Linked DNA regions of Homo sapiens: regions 1, 2, 3 and 4 are each linked to region 5. The links are contacts of gene promoters, found by promoter capture Hi-C in blood cells and fetal thymus (Javierre and others, 2016). All regions are on one chromosome and are shown on one strand. Each heading gives the region's core, a stretch centred on a gene start or on the middle of the fragment in contact. The rest is flanking DNA. Distances are from core to core; before and after follow the strand shown.

The links. The method cuts DNA at HindIII sites, captures the fragments that hold promoters and counts their contacts. A CHiCAGO score of 5 or more calls a contact.
Region 1: a contact is called between a fragment that was not itself captured here and the fragment with the promoter of TGFB3 in region 5, in 1 of 17 cell types (erythroblasts). The highest score is 5.8, in erythroblasts.
Region 2: a contact is called between a fragment that was not itself captured here and the fragment with the promoter of TGFB3 in region 5, in 1 of 17 cell types (naive CD8 T cells). The highest score is 5.3, in naive CD8 T cells.
Region 3: a fragment that was not itself captured here is called in contact with the fragment with the promoter of TGFB3 in region 5 in 13 of 17 cell types (megakaryocytes, M0 macrophages, M1 macrophages and 10 more); the score reaches 10.7 in megakaryocytes.
Region 4: a fragment that was not itself captured here is called in contact with the fragment with the promoter of TGFB3 in region 5 in 14 of 17 cell types (M0 macrophages, endothelial precursors, naive B cells and 11 more); the score reaches 10.3 in M0 macrophages.

The regions. Positions count from the first base shown.
Region 1 is chr14:75,572,307-75,575,006 of GRCh38, forward strand. FLVCR2-AS1 (FLVCR2 antisense RNA 1) reads right to left here. Exons shown (of 3, transcript NR_110552.1): 3 at 2,595-2,700. Among named protein-coding and RNA genes, the nearest start is that of FLVCR2, 5.0 kb to the right of the region's middle. The HindIII fragment of the contact is 3,502 bases long and covers 1-2,700 here.
Region 2 is chr14:75,664,057-75,666,756 of GRCh38, forward strand. All of the region lies in intron 2 of TTLL5 (tubulin tyrosine ligase like 5), which reads left to right. Among named protein-coding and RNA genes, the nearest start is that of TTLL5, 4.2 kb to the left of the region's middle. The HindIII fragment of the contact is 1,505 bases long and covers 566-2,070 here.
Region 3 is chr14:75,718,064-75,720,763 of GRCh38, forward strand. It overlaps TTLL5 (tubulin tyrosine ligase like 5), which reads left to right. Exons shown (of 32, transcript NM_015072.5): 11 at 1,672-1,763; 12 at 2,533-2,640. Among named protein-coding and RNA genes, the nearest start is that of TTLL5, 58 kb to the left of the region's middle. The HindIII fragment of the contact is 2,411 bases long and covers 246-2,656 here.
Region 4 is chr14:75,701,005-75,703,704 of GRCh38, forward strand. All of the region lies in intron 7 of TTLL5 (tubulin tyrosine ligase like 5), which reads left to right. Among named protein-coding and RNA genes, the nearest start is that of TTLL5, 41 kb to the left of the region's middle. The HindIII fragment of the contact is 1,012 bases long and covers 787-1,798 here.
Region 5 is chr14:75,980,745-75,983,444 of GRCh38, forward strand. TGFB3 (transforming growth factor beta 3) reads right to left here and starts at 1,251. Exons shown (of 7, transcript NM_003239.5): 1 at 1-1,251. The coding sequence starts at 149. RefSeq lists silencers at 1,556-1,795, 1,926-2,045 and an enhancer at 1,826-1,885. The HindIII fragment of the contact is 14,571 bases long and covers 1-2,700 here.

The DNA of each region.
Region 1 (2,700 bases), core at 123-2,622, 410 kb before region 5:
CACTGGAGGGTTCAAGGCAGGGAGTGACCTGAAGAGAACTGGAAAATCCTGTGAGGCGACATCCGGCTGAACTGGAAGGAGCGAGAACAACGAGGAGGCAGCCGTGGGTTGGAGGTGAGAAGCCAGGAGAGGCTGCAGCAGGGTGGTGGCAGTGAGAAAGGACAGGAGGGAAGACTGTAAGGAAAGAAGCATCTGTGACACTGAGAGTGAGTGAAGGGGGATCTGGGGAATCCTTAGTCTTCAGGCTTGGCTCACTGGGAGCTAGTGGTGCGCTTTGTCGACAGAGAGAACTCCAGAGAAGTAGACCTTGGCACAGGTCTTTGGATGATGGGACGGAAGTTGAGTTGTAAGTTGTAGGGATAAGAGCCCACAGACTCTATAAGTATGAAAGACGTTAGAAGCAAAAAGAAGGCCAGGGAATGGTCAAACAAGACTAGGATGTGGGGAATAGGTCCTCTGACTACACACACAATTTCTCTGAGGAGACGCCCTAATGGACTTTGGAGGACATAGCTTGGCTGAAGAGGCATCCCTGAGGTTCCAGAGTTGAAGTCTTGGGTGTCCATCATAGCACCAACAGTATAAACTCTAGGACAAGTTGACCACACTTTGAGACATCACCTATGGGCTCCAGTGAAACAGCTGGAGCTCGGTTAAATTTGATTCCATTTTTTAATTTTAGGATTTTTTTTAAGTTCAAAAAAATTAGTTGGCTGGGCACAGTGGCTCACGCCTGTAATCCCAGCACTTTGGGAGGCTGAGGTAGGCAGGCAGATCACGAGGTCAGGAGATCAAGACCATCCTGGCTAATACAGTGAAACCCCGTCTCTACAACGAAATACAAAAAATTAGCCAGGCATGGTAGCGTGCGCCTGTAGTCTCAGCTACTCGGGAGGCTGAGGCAGGAGAATCGCTTGAACCTGGGAGGCAGAGGTTGCAATAAGCCAAGATCGCACCACCGCACTCCAGCCTGGGCGACAGAGCAAGACTCCTTCTCAAAAAAAAGAAAAAAGAAAAAATATTAGTTATACATAGTTCAAACAATAAAATAATCATGTATGAAACATATCAGTTGTGTACCCCCCTTTCCTGCGCTCCAGAGGCAAGTACTTCCAACTCTTCTCAATTCTTTTGGTACTTAACCACCATAGCTGTAAGTGCCACGGGTTTATTAACACTTCCGGACTTTTTCCATGTTAGGCATTTGCATGCCATAGCCTTTTCTATACGGCAGACAAATCGCATGATTGGAGTCTAGATTCCTTCTCCTCCGGGGTCTGCTCAGAGATTCTCCAAGTTTGTCCTTGAAGGGAATGTGCTTCTGCCAAAACCCCAGGGAAGAAAACCAGCTCTCCTTGTTTTTAGTTTTTGGTTTTTGTTTCTGCTTTTGATAGAGACAGGGTCTAGCTATGTTCCCCAGCCTGGTCTCGAACTCCCGAGCTCAAGCAATCCACCATCGTCGGCATCCCAAAGGGCTGGGATTACAGGTGTGAGCCACCGTGCCCGGCCCCATTCTCCTTGTTTAACTGTTTACCCCACCCTCATCTCAACCCTGCACAGGTGCCCGCTTCCCACTCCCCCATCCTGCTAACTGTGTTATATCATAGCTTTAGATACATCAACTCCCAGTGTTCACTTTATTAGGATTGTGTTCATGCTATGCAAATCAAATCACTTAGGGTATATCATGATTATTTTTTCCTTTTCCTCCATAGTTTGTTTATTCCACTGGAGTTAATAATGCTTCCTTTTCCCCATTTACTTAGTTATATTTATGGTACTTATCATTAGTCCAACCCCTAATCTTCCCCCTATTGTGTAAACCTCTCAATATTTTCAAACATGATTCTTTCAGTGTGACTTTCTTGAAGAACTCTTCCTTGGAGTCTTCAAAGCAGCTTCAGCCTGAGTATGCTGCTTTCTTTTTTTTTCTTTTTTCTTTTTTTTGGGGGGACAAAGTCTTGCTCTTGTCCCCCCAGCTGGAGTGCGATGGCACGATCTCGGCTCATTGCAACCTCTGCCTCCTGGGTTCAAGCGATTCTCCTGCCTCAGCCTCCTGAGTAACTGGGATTACAGGTGCCTGCCACCACGCCCGGCTAATTTTTGTATTTTTAGTAGAGATGGGGTTTCACCATGTTGGCCAGGCCGATCTAGAACTCCTGACCTCAGGTGATCCACCCGCCTCAGCCTCCCAAAGTGCTGGGATTACAGGCATGAGCCACCACGACCAGCCGAGTACACTGCTTTTTATGCCTGGTAGATAGCTGTCTACCCAGGAGTTTCCTTTAGCTGGGTGATTCCCATTGTTTGCCTTTTGTGGCGGATTCCCGGTTTCCTCAGCCTTAACCTCTTCCCCTCTCTAGGTTTCCTTCCTTGTTTTGGTGGAGCACATCCTTCAGCAGCTTCCTGAGAGAGAAGATAAGGCAGTATCATTTGTTGTTTCACTCTCTTCTCAAACTGATTTTTTGGTAGTTTGGATATAGCATTCTAGGTAAGAAACGGTTTTTCTTCAGAAGGCATTGTTCCACTGACTTCAAATTTCCAGGCTTGAGGCAACTGTGTTGATATTTTGTATCTGGTTTTTTTTTTTTAACTTTTTCTGATTTTTTAAAATCTCTGAAATCCTGTTGGATCTCCTCTTTGTCTCCAGTTTTGTAAAATTTCATGGTGATATGCAGTACAACTCAATTCTACAGATAC
Region 2 (2,700 bases), core at 68-2,567, 320 kb before region 5:
CCGGGCAACAAGAGCAAACCTCCATCTCAAAAAAAAAAAAAAGAATGATAATGATAAATATAGCTACTACAGATGACGATAAAGGCTTTATCTCATCTATATCTTATATCTTTTTAAATCTGAAGGTGTTATTATTTTCACTTTTTTAAACTCAGTCTTATCAGGAAATTTCCTCAGTGACCCATAGAGAGTAAGTGATGCATTGAGATTTGGACTTAGCTTTTCTGGATTTTGATCACTTTGCTCTTTTGCCTCCTTTAATTATTGCTTGACACAGAGTAAAGAGAGAATCTGGTTTAAAGGTAAAATTCATTTTTAAGATTCTCCCTGAGTCCTTTTGGATATGTGTGTGCTATGTAACCTGAAAAATAGAGATAATATCTCCCAGGCTATTTTGTAGGGGTCTGGTTAGACTCAAATAGCATAATGTATGTGAAATTACTTTGTAAGTGCTATACAAATGTAAGGCATTATTTTTACTGGTTTTAATATTGAATTTATGGTGGGCTTCTTGTAAGATACAAGATTACTTGTAATTTGAAAAAAATTGTTGAAGCATTAAGAAAGCTTTGAGGAAACGTTTCTTATCACTGTTAGGTCATAGAAACTAATAGAGATTTGAAAGTATATTTGGGTCATTCTTGTTCAGGATAATTAAATGGATAATTCCCTCTGGTTACTTTCCCTTCTTCTGACTTTTTGCTTTCGGTGTGCTGCCTCTTACCCATTTCATAAAACTTTTAACTTCTGCTGCAAGTATCAGTCTTTCCCTTTTTAAAGGTTGTTCTTTTACTCCATTACTGTCTCTCTTATTAGTGGGTTTACAGATTGGGCCTGACAAATGTTAGATTGAACTATATGAAACTGCCATTTTGGTAGGTCAGAAACAGTCAAATACTGACGATTGCAGATAGTTTGACCTAATATTATAGTAGGTACTTAGTAAATTCTTGCTGACTGAATAACGAAATGAAGGAATAAATGAAGGCTTTATACTTTACATTACCTTAGATCAGAGTTGTTAACTTTTTTATGCCATGGATTCCTTACCAGAATAATGTTTTTAAGGCTTAAAATAAAATACATATTATTACAAAGAGTACTAATTACATTCAAATGCAGTTATTAAAACACATTTGTAACATAGTAATATGTGCTGTTTTACTAATACATTAAATAATAAGATCATTTCAAATCTGGGAAAGTTAAATTTTGTTTTCTAAAGACAACAACATGAAGACTGTTTTTGTTTAGTTTGTGTAAGATCAGTACACTGGGAGGGTGGCCTTTGATTAACAATCATAGGTCGGGGGTACTGGGAAGCAGCATAGATGTCTGGGTCACCAGTGTGAGGTGTCATCATTTAGTGACTGAATGATTATTAGGAGGAGAGTTGCCCAATTGTTGTCCAACCTCATCACACTAGCATTTAGATAGAAAGACCATGATCACATGTGATCTAGGGGTGAGTCTTAAACTACTATAACTTAGAAGTAGTGACAAATGTAATACCTGTAATTGGCCAGGTGCAGTGGCTCACGCCTGTAATCCCAGCACTTTGGGAGGCCGAGGTGGGCAGATCACTTGCAGTCAGGAGTTTGAGACCAGCCTGGCCAATATGGTGAAACCCTGTCTCTACTAAAATACAAAAATTAGCCGGGTGTGGTTGTGGGTAATCCCAGCTACTCGGGAGGCTGAGGCAGGTGAATCGCTTGAACCTGGAAGGCAGAGGTTGCAGTGAGCCGAGATTGTGCCACTGTGCTCCAGCCTGGGAGACAGAGTGAGACTCCGTCTCAAACAAAACAAAACAAAAAAACTGCTGTAATTTTAGATAACGTCAAAGGCACAGATAATGCTAATATTACTATGGTTCGTTGCCTATATTCATAATTAAGAAATACTGAATTTCTAGTAAAAGTTAGTGAAAATAAAGGTGTAATTTTCCCTCTGCTCCCATCCAAATTTATGGACCACTTCCTCCTTTTAGACTCCTACTGTTGATTTTTAACTGTTAATCTTGTTTCATCAGCTTATGTCTTGTCTATCAGACACTTATTTTTTACATTAGGAAGCTTAAATCAATCTTGTTCACACCTGAAGCAGCAGGCTTACATTTTAAAAGTTGATTTAGAAGTTTGAAGGCCATAAATCATCGGAAGATGTTGACTTGATCCAAAGATGTATATCCATGGACATCTGTTAGATCTGCTCAGATCCCTAGGCTGTGTTAAAGTATTAATTCCTTGCAATCGTGGACTTCAGGAATAGAAACTATCCAGGCAGTCTTGTTTTGCATGGTATTATTTCAAATAGAAAATGTAAAGAGGCTGTTTTTCTATATTTTGCTTGGGGATCCCAAATACAACTCTGTATGTAGATATAGAAGCTTTCGTAGAAGAACGTGATGTAAGATTTCTTTGGTCACTGAAAAAATGTCAACTTTAATTGCTATTGTAAAAGGCTGGCTTTATATCAGTTAAAAAGATTATTAACAATCAATTATAAAGTGGGTGCTATAGGAGTTCAGAGAAGGAAGTATCGTAATGGGCTGAAGGAGCTGGGGAAGGCTGCCTGAAGGTGGTGAGACTTTAGGTAGGCCTTGGAGAGTGGGCTTAGATAAACAGAAGTGGGGAAGGCATTTCTAATAGGGGTAGTGGTATGAAGACAGCCTAGAAGCAAGAATGCAAAAGCTGCTTACAG
Region 3 (2,700 bases), core at 201-2,700, 260 kb before region 5:
TAATGTCCATGTACCATTTATGGAAATCTGTCAGTCATATAACAGTGTTGAGGCATATCTCCTGCTGCTTCTCCATTGCCTCCCCGGTTAACGGTGTCACCTTTCTCTACCAAAATGTGCCTTCACAAGTTTTTCTTCCTCACTGCCTTCCCTCACTTGACTTAGGAATGGGAATTTAATAGGCATATGGAACGTTTTAGAAGTTAAGAAATGAGGTCATTTCAGCACTTGGCAAACATATCAAAAGCTTAAAAAATGTCTGTACCCTTTGACCCCATGGTTCCATTTCTAGGAACTTAACCTTAAGGAATAAAAGATGTACACACAGGATCAGTGATAAGAATGTTCATTACCATGTATTCGTAGGTGGAAAAAGCAGGTTATCAGATAGCACATGCAACTTAACTTTCTTGCTTGAATATGAGATATCTAAAGCTGCTTATTTTTGCTGAGGGGGGAGGAAAAAAAGACCAGAAGTAGTACCGAAGTGTTAATTTAGCTTAACTATAGTGGGTAGGATTGTGAGTGGGTGATTTTTATTTTCTTCTTTGTGCCATTATGTATTTTCTAAATTTTTCTAAAATAAATACTTGTATGATCAAGAAAAAGAAAAGGAAAAAATCAAAGAAAGAAAGAAATGAGGCCATCTCAGAAAAGGATTCAGTGGAAGGGAGTACTAGCCCAGCTGTGTGGAAATATTCTTTTTGCTCTGTTTTCTTTCATGCCGATATTTTTGCCAGAAAGTGGAAAAGTGGAAAAGAGACCCAAATAGTTACTTTCTACTCAGACTAAAAATAGGTTCCTAGCAGGTCCAAGGAAAGAAAGAAAGGAATCTGGAAGTGATAGAATAGTTGCTGAAGCTATATAGGTTTCAGCAAATATCCTGTGAGCAGCATTTGCATTGACTGAAGAGATCATACCTCCACTGTGAAAGATGAGCAAAGGCACAATTGGTGGAGAGTGGGATGGTGGTAGGGAGTGAGGGGACAGCTGCAAAACACAGGTTCCAGATTGCGGGGCTCTTCCAACATTCGTGGGAGGCTGTGCCATTGGCCACTCCGCTGCCATAGCAATAGTATACCTCCTCACTCTTACTGTCACTCCAGTGCACTCTCCCTTCAGTGTTACCTCAAAAAAATCAGGAAAAGCCATATCTACTGCCAAAGAGGAGGGAACCTGCTTCAGATGCCAAAGCAATTCTGTGTGGGGTTATTTCATTAGCATGCTGCACCAGAATAACTCACTCACCCATTCCAACTCAGTTCTGGTCTGAAAATGGCATCAGAGGTTGTTTTGTGGACTCAGGTGACATTCACCTCAAAGGTTAATTGTCTTTTAACTTGTTGTAACCATTCTTAAATTTGTTTGCCTTCTTTCACACATTGCTTTCACTCTTTCTTGATGCATAATTGTTTGGTTAAGAAAGAATTTGCCGCCTTCTTCCCCACCCTCTTGAAAAAGGCAAACTGTATGCATTTTCATTTCCATTGAAGAAATTGGTATGAAAGGATATATGACAAAAAGGACCAAGAAAAAATGAGTAACTGGAAGTCAGCAAAGTGAATTAAAAAAAAAACTTTTTAAAAAGACAAGAAGGCTATTTGCAAAGAGTCTTGTTATTATAGCCAAGCCTAGTTACATATGTGACTTTGATTTATTAATTTGTTTTAGTTGTGACGATCCAGAAGTGGAGGATTATGGAAACAAATGGAGCATGAGTGCTATGCTTAGGTACCTGAAACAAGAAGGCAGAGATACAACCGGTGAGTACTGGGCCTTTTTCCTTCTTGACTTCTCTTCTTTGGATAACTTTATCATTGTCTCTTGCCAGGAATCATTCTCTGTTGCTTTGATAGTGTTGCTGAGACGGGATGATTGTCCTTGGTGTTACTTTTTCCTGCAGTTGACAAGCTGGGGAACAGGTTTTCCATTACCCTCAAAATCCCTTTTCTTGTTTCGGGTCTGAAAGACATAACTTTTTCCTTTTAATCCTTAGTGAATTTACCCTTCTTGAATGTTGAACTGCTGACTAAAATATGGTCAGCTTTTTATATAACAAATTGCCTGTCTCCATATTGGCCCCAAGTTTCGAGTTTTCTAAGTTAATCTCTCTCATTCATGTTGCTGAGTTGGAGAATGGGCACTGTTTGAGCACAGGGCTTCAAATCAAAATGGACACAATTGCTGAGCCTTGAGCAGAACGGGAAACTGTGTGCCAAAAAAGACTTTTCATTTCACAAGGGAAAGGGTCATAGGGGAAGTGTGAGAAGGGAAGTGAGGCTCCTATTCCATTATGTGTCTGTCTTTTGTCATAAGAGGCCACCTGAGGGTATCCCTTGGCACCTACATTCTTGACTGTATTGATCTGTTCACAGATATGCCTGCCTCTATAGCACCCATTCAGAAGTCTGCCATATAGAGGCTTTTTTGAATGAGCACACATGCTTTTATAGTTATATTGTTATCTGGAATCCAGTTCATAATCCATGTATTTTGATATTGAGTCTGAAATTTAAAAATTTTTGTTTGCAGCATTGATGGCCCATGTAGAAGACCTGATCATTAAGACTATAATCTCTGCTGAACTAGCTATTGCTACTGCCTGTAAAACCTTTGTTCCTCATCGCAGCAGTTGTTTTGGTAAGGAGACTCAAGAAGCTTAACATGTTTTGTGAAGAGGATCTTGGGAAGTTGGACGGG
Region 4 (2,700 bases), core at 43-2,542, 280 kb before region 5:
TTGAGGCATTCTAGATCTTTCCTTCATGTTAACTTTTCTCGCATTTTTAATTCTTTTCCCATCTTCTAGATCACAGGTTGAGGTTTATCCATTTATTATTCATTTATCTACTGTATTTTTATATTGGGTATCATAGGTTGATTTCCAGAAACTCATATTCTGATTTGCTTTATTTTTATTTACAAATAACAACCTTTTGTTGCATAATGGATGCAGTTTGCCTGCCTTTCCTTCTGAGGATACCAATGGAAATTTTTGTAAAGTTCTCTTCTGTCCTTTAATTTTATTGGGATTGTCTTTTCCCCTGCTATTGGATTTTCTCAGCTTTGATGATCCTTACATGTTGGACCATATTTATGAACAAAAGACTAGACTGAATGAAACTGGCCGCTGGTCTGGGTTTCTACTGTGGTTGTGTAGGACTCTTTTCCTAATATCTTCTCCCTGGAAGAGGCTGACTGTGAATTTTGTGTAAGGGCAAAACATGTTGACTCTCAGGCTTTACTTTAGGTGGACATGGTGAGAAGCACTCCCCTTCCACCTTGCCAAAATAAAGTGGGCCATATTGTGAATGCAGAGGAGGATTTTGGTGATCTCCCTCTTGGGCAGAGCTACCTTTCTTTTCCTTTTTGTGTGTACTGGTGATAAGGTAGCCTCAAGTTCTACTCTTCTCTATCAGATTTCTGCACCCACACGTCTCCTGGCCTCACTGTTCCAAATGCTGTTTGTTAATTATCTGATTCTAATTCCTTGGCTGATCCCTGAGCTTCATGTTTGTTGAGTACAAGCTTGGAAATTTGCAGGAGCCTCCTTGGGAAGGTCACTCTTATCTCTTTTGGACTTTTCTGGCTTCTTTTACTTTTTCCTAGCTTTGATATCATTTCATTCTTTTGAAAATATTCTTTCTGTCCTTCCACTGGAACTCTGGAAGGGCAGGGGTAGGTAGATGTGTTGTATGTGGGACCAGAACCCTATCTTAAATTCCCCACTTGTCTTTTCACATTGAGCTGTTTGCCATATGTGTAGAAACTAACTTTCTGAGGGATCTTTCACATTGGAAAGTCCTTAAATTCAGTCTGGACTCAAAACAGTACCGTAAACAATGATGGCCAGACCCTTCATGCCAAAGAAATATAGGATCTGGTTTTGATAGAGCAACTGCTACAGCCCCAGGCATTGGCTGCAACTTCTGTTACCTGGCCTAGGCCACTCTGGAGGCCTTTTACCCTGAGTCTCCTGTGACATAAGGCCATGGTCATATGCCTTGGCTCTGTCTCCTCTTGTCTCTGCTCTGACGTTGGTGTTGAAGGCCCCTCTCCAACAGCTTTTCCTTCAGCTCTGTGCCAGGAGCTCCAGTGTTGTTTGAATCTCATAGACGGCACTAGTTTGGGTTTAGGTTTTAGCTGCCAAATGGAATTGCTATTGAAAGTCAGCTATGGTACAAGTTTGCTTTTTATTTTCTTAGATATGAGTCAAAAAGAATAGGATCTATTCCCAGCTCATCTGGGACTTTTTTCTTTTGGAATGCTTTTTTGCCCTAGTGATTTGTTATTTTAAAGCTAGCATCATAAAGGATAGAAAAGTTAAACTTTCCTTGGTGGAGCCGAGAACCCTGCGCCCTAACTCTTCCCTGGATGCCGAATCTCAGTGGGGTGACATGTCTTAGAGAATGTGTTTGGCAGGCTATGTAAGAGTCTTTTTCTCCCTCCCACCTCTCCCTGGGCTGAATCCTTTGAGACCCCCTGCATAGATCAAAGTACTTGGCAGGACCTTTTGCCTTCCCCCTCCCTCTTTGTGAAGCTTTGGAATGAGTCTGATTCTTTTAGGTATTTAGTGGAAGTGCCAGACAGAAGCCTGGGAGGATGCCAGGAGGCATGAGGGGAGCTGGCAACATGCGGACATAATGGGAAAATACTCCTGTTTTACCCCAAAACTGGAATTTTACCACCTTTTACCCAGACCTGCAAACCATGTTGTTAATACTCTTCTCTCTCCTTACACAAAAGGCATAACCATCCCCTCTTTTCCATGCCTGGATCCTTTCCCATGGAATATGTGACCCATTAGCCAACTGGATGAAGTAACTCTTTCCAAGGCTGCTGCCTGCTTTCCTTTTAGATTTAAGCAGGAGGGTGAGGAGAGGGAATGCTGAGGCAGAGGGTCTGGGAGCAGAACTAATGTGAGTGAGTGAGGGATTTAGGCAGTGGGGATGGAGTTGGTGTGAGGGCCAAATGAAAATATCTTCCCCTCTCTTCCCACTGGAGTGAGAGGGCCACTTACTAAAACTTCCCTATAGTAGTCATAACCTTTTGGAAACTCTCTGCAAATAGCAACTTTTACCATTACGAGAACGAGATAAAGGATAGCAAAAGCATCACTTTTATGTAACACTGAAAAGAGAAGTGTGGACCACAGATGGAAACATCTCGGTTGGCTAACGTGGTCTCATAAGGATGTGCTCTTTAGAAATACAGCATAAAGGAACAAAGCTGTGTTTGCTCCACTCCTTCAGTAACCATGACTAAATGCCATATTTTCCCAATTTAGTATATTCAAAGCAAGGAGGGGAAAGAATGGGTGTTTTCTGATTAAGGTATGAATTTGATTATGGAAGTCAAGTTTACTCATTCTTGTCTCACACATGATCCATGGGAAATACAGTATTGATACATTCTCTGAGACTTTCACATGTTAGGAGAG
Region 5 (2,700 bases), core at 1-2,500:
TTGCTCAAGATCTGTCCCCTAATGGCTTCCACCCTCTTCTTCTTGATGTGGCCGAAGTCCAAGGTGGTGCAAGTGGACAGAGAGAGGCTGACCGTGGCAAAGTTCAGCAGGGCCAGGACCACCAGAGCCCTTTGCAAGTGCATCTTCATGTGTGAGCTGGGAAGAGAGGCCAGGGGGACGGCAAGGCCTGGAGAGGAAGAGACCCCAGCAGACGTGCAGAAGGAGGGAGGAAAACCAGGCGGCCTCCCCAGATCCCAAAGACTGAGGCTTGGCAAGAAGGTGCATGAACTCACTGCACTGCGAGAGCTTCAGGACTTCCAGGAAGCGCTGGCAACCCTGAGGACGAAGAAGCGGACTGTGTGCCTTGTAGCGCTGGGATTCTTGTCCATGTGTCTAAACAGGTTTTGCTGGGCTCTGACTCCCAGCAGGCCAGGTGGAGGGCAAGCAGAGGGCTGGGAGGGGTGGCAAGGCAGCTGGGAGTGGGAAGGGAGCTGGAGTTTTTCCTTAGGTAAAAATAAATAGAGTGGATATCTGATATTGCCAAACGCCGCTTGGCGATGGGGAGAAAGTGGGTATTTTAAAGAAGAAGCAGAAGGACCATGGCTGGGTCCCAAAATCAAAATCCTTGCCTTGCCTTGAAAGAAAATAAGAAAAGAGAATGGAAAAGAAAAGGGAAAAAAAAGTAAAAAAAAAAAGATCACCAGTGAGTAGGTGGGGAGAAGCAGGGCCGGGCAGTTGCTGGCCCAGCTAAAGGTGGGGGCAGTACAGGACACACTTGTCTCTCAGGCACTCCATTCATGCTTTCTCTTTTGTTTACACTTCCTCGGGGGCTTTCTAAATGACTTTGTTCACGCTGCCTCTCGTCTTCATTGGCTGGGGTGTGGGGTTATATGCATTGGAAGGCAGGGAGGCAGGCCTCTGAGCGCAGCAGCCCCAATCATCCACTCAGACGCCCAGGGTCACCAGCACCTCGGCTTGTCTTCTGCCTCGGCCATTGCTTCTGTCCCCTGCTTCTCTTTAAAAAATAAAAAGGAGAAAAAAATAAAATAAAATAGAAGCCAGTTCACGGCACGCCTGCTCCGGAAAGCTGTTATTCCTTCTCTCGCACGCCTCTTCCCCTGTCTCTGCCTCTCTCGCTCATTCCCTTGGACTTGACTCTCTGCTTCCCTCCCTTTCTCTCTCTCCCTCTCCCTCTCCCTCTCGCTCCTCTCCCTCTCTCTCTCACACACACACACATGCACACACACTGCTTTCTCTATTTCTCTCTGCTGAAATTTTATACCTCCCTCCCATGACGTCTCTGGCCTGGGGTGGGGGAGGGAGGGACCAGCGCACGCAGCCTCTTTTGCTGCACGATGTTAATGTTTTAAACAGGCACAGGAAAAGCCGAGCCCTTTTGAAAAATACTTTGCGAGTCCTCTCGTTCGACGTGGTAGCTGAACTTTTTTTCCCCTCTTGGAATCACTCCTGCCACACGTTGGCTGTTTTTCTGGAAAGTTACTCCGATGAGCCCCCTCCCTCCCTTTCCCCCAGCCCCGGCGCCCTCTCGCCAGCTGTCAGTCCGCGCCGTCCGCGGCCCGCGTCTACTCTCCCTCCTGGTCCCCCGGTCCCGGGGCCGCCCGCGGGCCAGGCCCAACCCGGGGCAGGGTCCGCAGAGGGCGCGGGACCCGGTAGGGGCGGCCATGCCAGCCTCGCAGAGGGGACTCCCAGCCTGCGAGCCGGGTCGGAGGGTCGGCGTCCGCTCCGCGGCGATCCTGGCCCGATTCTTCATTGACAAGATCGGAGTCGGGAGGCGGGCAGAAGCCTGGAGACGCTCCAGGGGCAGTGAAAAATGGTGGCGTTTTCCGGAAGATCGAGGGTGCCCTCTGGCGAGGCGAGGCCGCCAGTGAAGGAGCTCGGCTGGTCGGGAGCCGGGGAGGCTCGGGGGCTGGGGGCTGCGGGGTGGGGGCTGAGGGGCGGGAGAAGGGGCTGCGGTAGAGAGCGAGAAAAACAAGACCCAGGCCCCGAGGAATCGCCTCCCTCCCGGCCCGACGTGCGCACGAGCGCACCTCTCCCTCCCCGACCGCCGCTCCGGAGCCGCTCTCGCAGAAATGTCATCCAGATGTTCAGCCTCCCTCCCCGCCGAGGTCTCCGCAGGGAGCTGCGCCAGCGAGCGCGAAGTCAGCAGTTGGCCCGAGCCCATTTCCCAGATGGGTGAGGGGAAGTCGGCTCTGTGCTTTCGCTCCTCTTCTCGGCCCGAACCTCTAGGCCTTTTCCCACGAGCAGCCAAGGGAGGGTAGGGCACGTGGCTCCCCGCACCCCGCAACACAGGGCTTGCCTCTGAACTGAACTTTCCTGAGAGTGAGTGCCGCTCCCACCCCATCTCACTCCAGCCTTCCTGGACCCTTTCTGAGAGGTCTGGCTTCCAGGCCACTAACTGAAGGGGCTGTTCTCTGTATCCCAGCACAGCGGTGGGTCACTTTACGGATGAGGAAACTGAGGCATAGAGTTTTTTGTTTTTTTTTTTACAGACCACACTGCTTGTGAGTGATGGAGGCGATATTTTACACAGGCTATCTAGCTTGGGTAGGCATTACTTTCATTTGCAAAACCAATGGGAAACCTAGGGGTAGAAACTTTAAAAGTAACTTGCCCAAGGTCACATAGTTATTAGGTGTCAGCTGTTGGGATTTGGACCCAGGACGTTGCCAGATTCTGGAC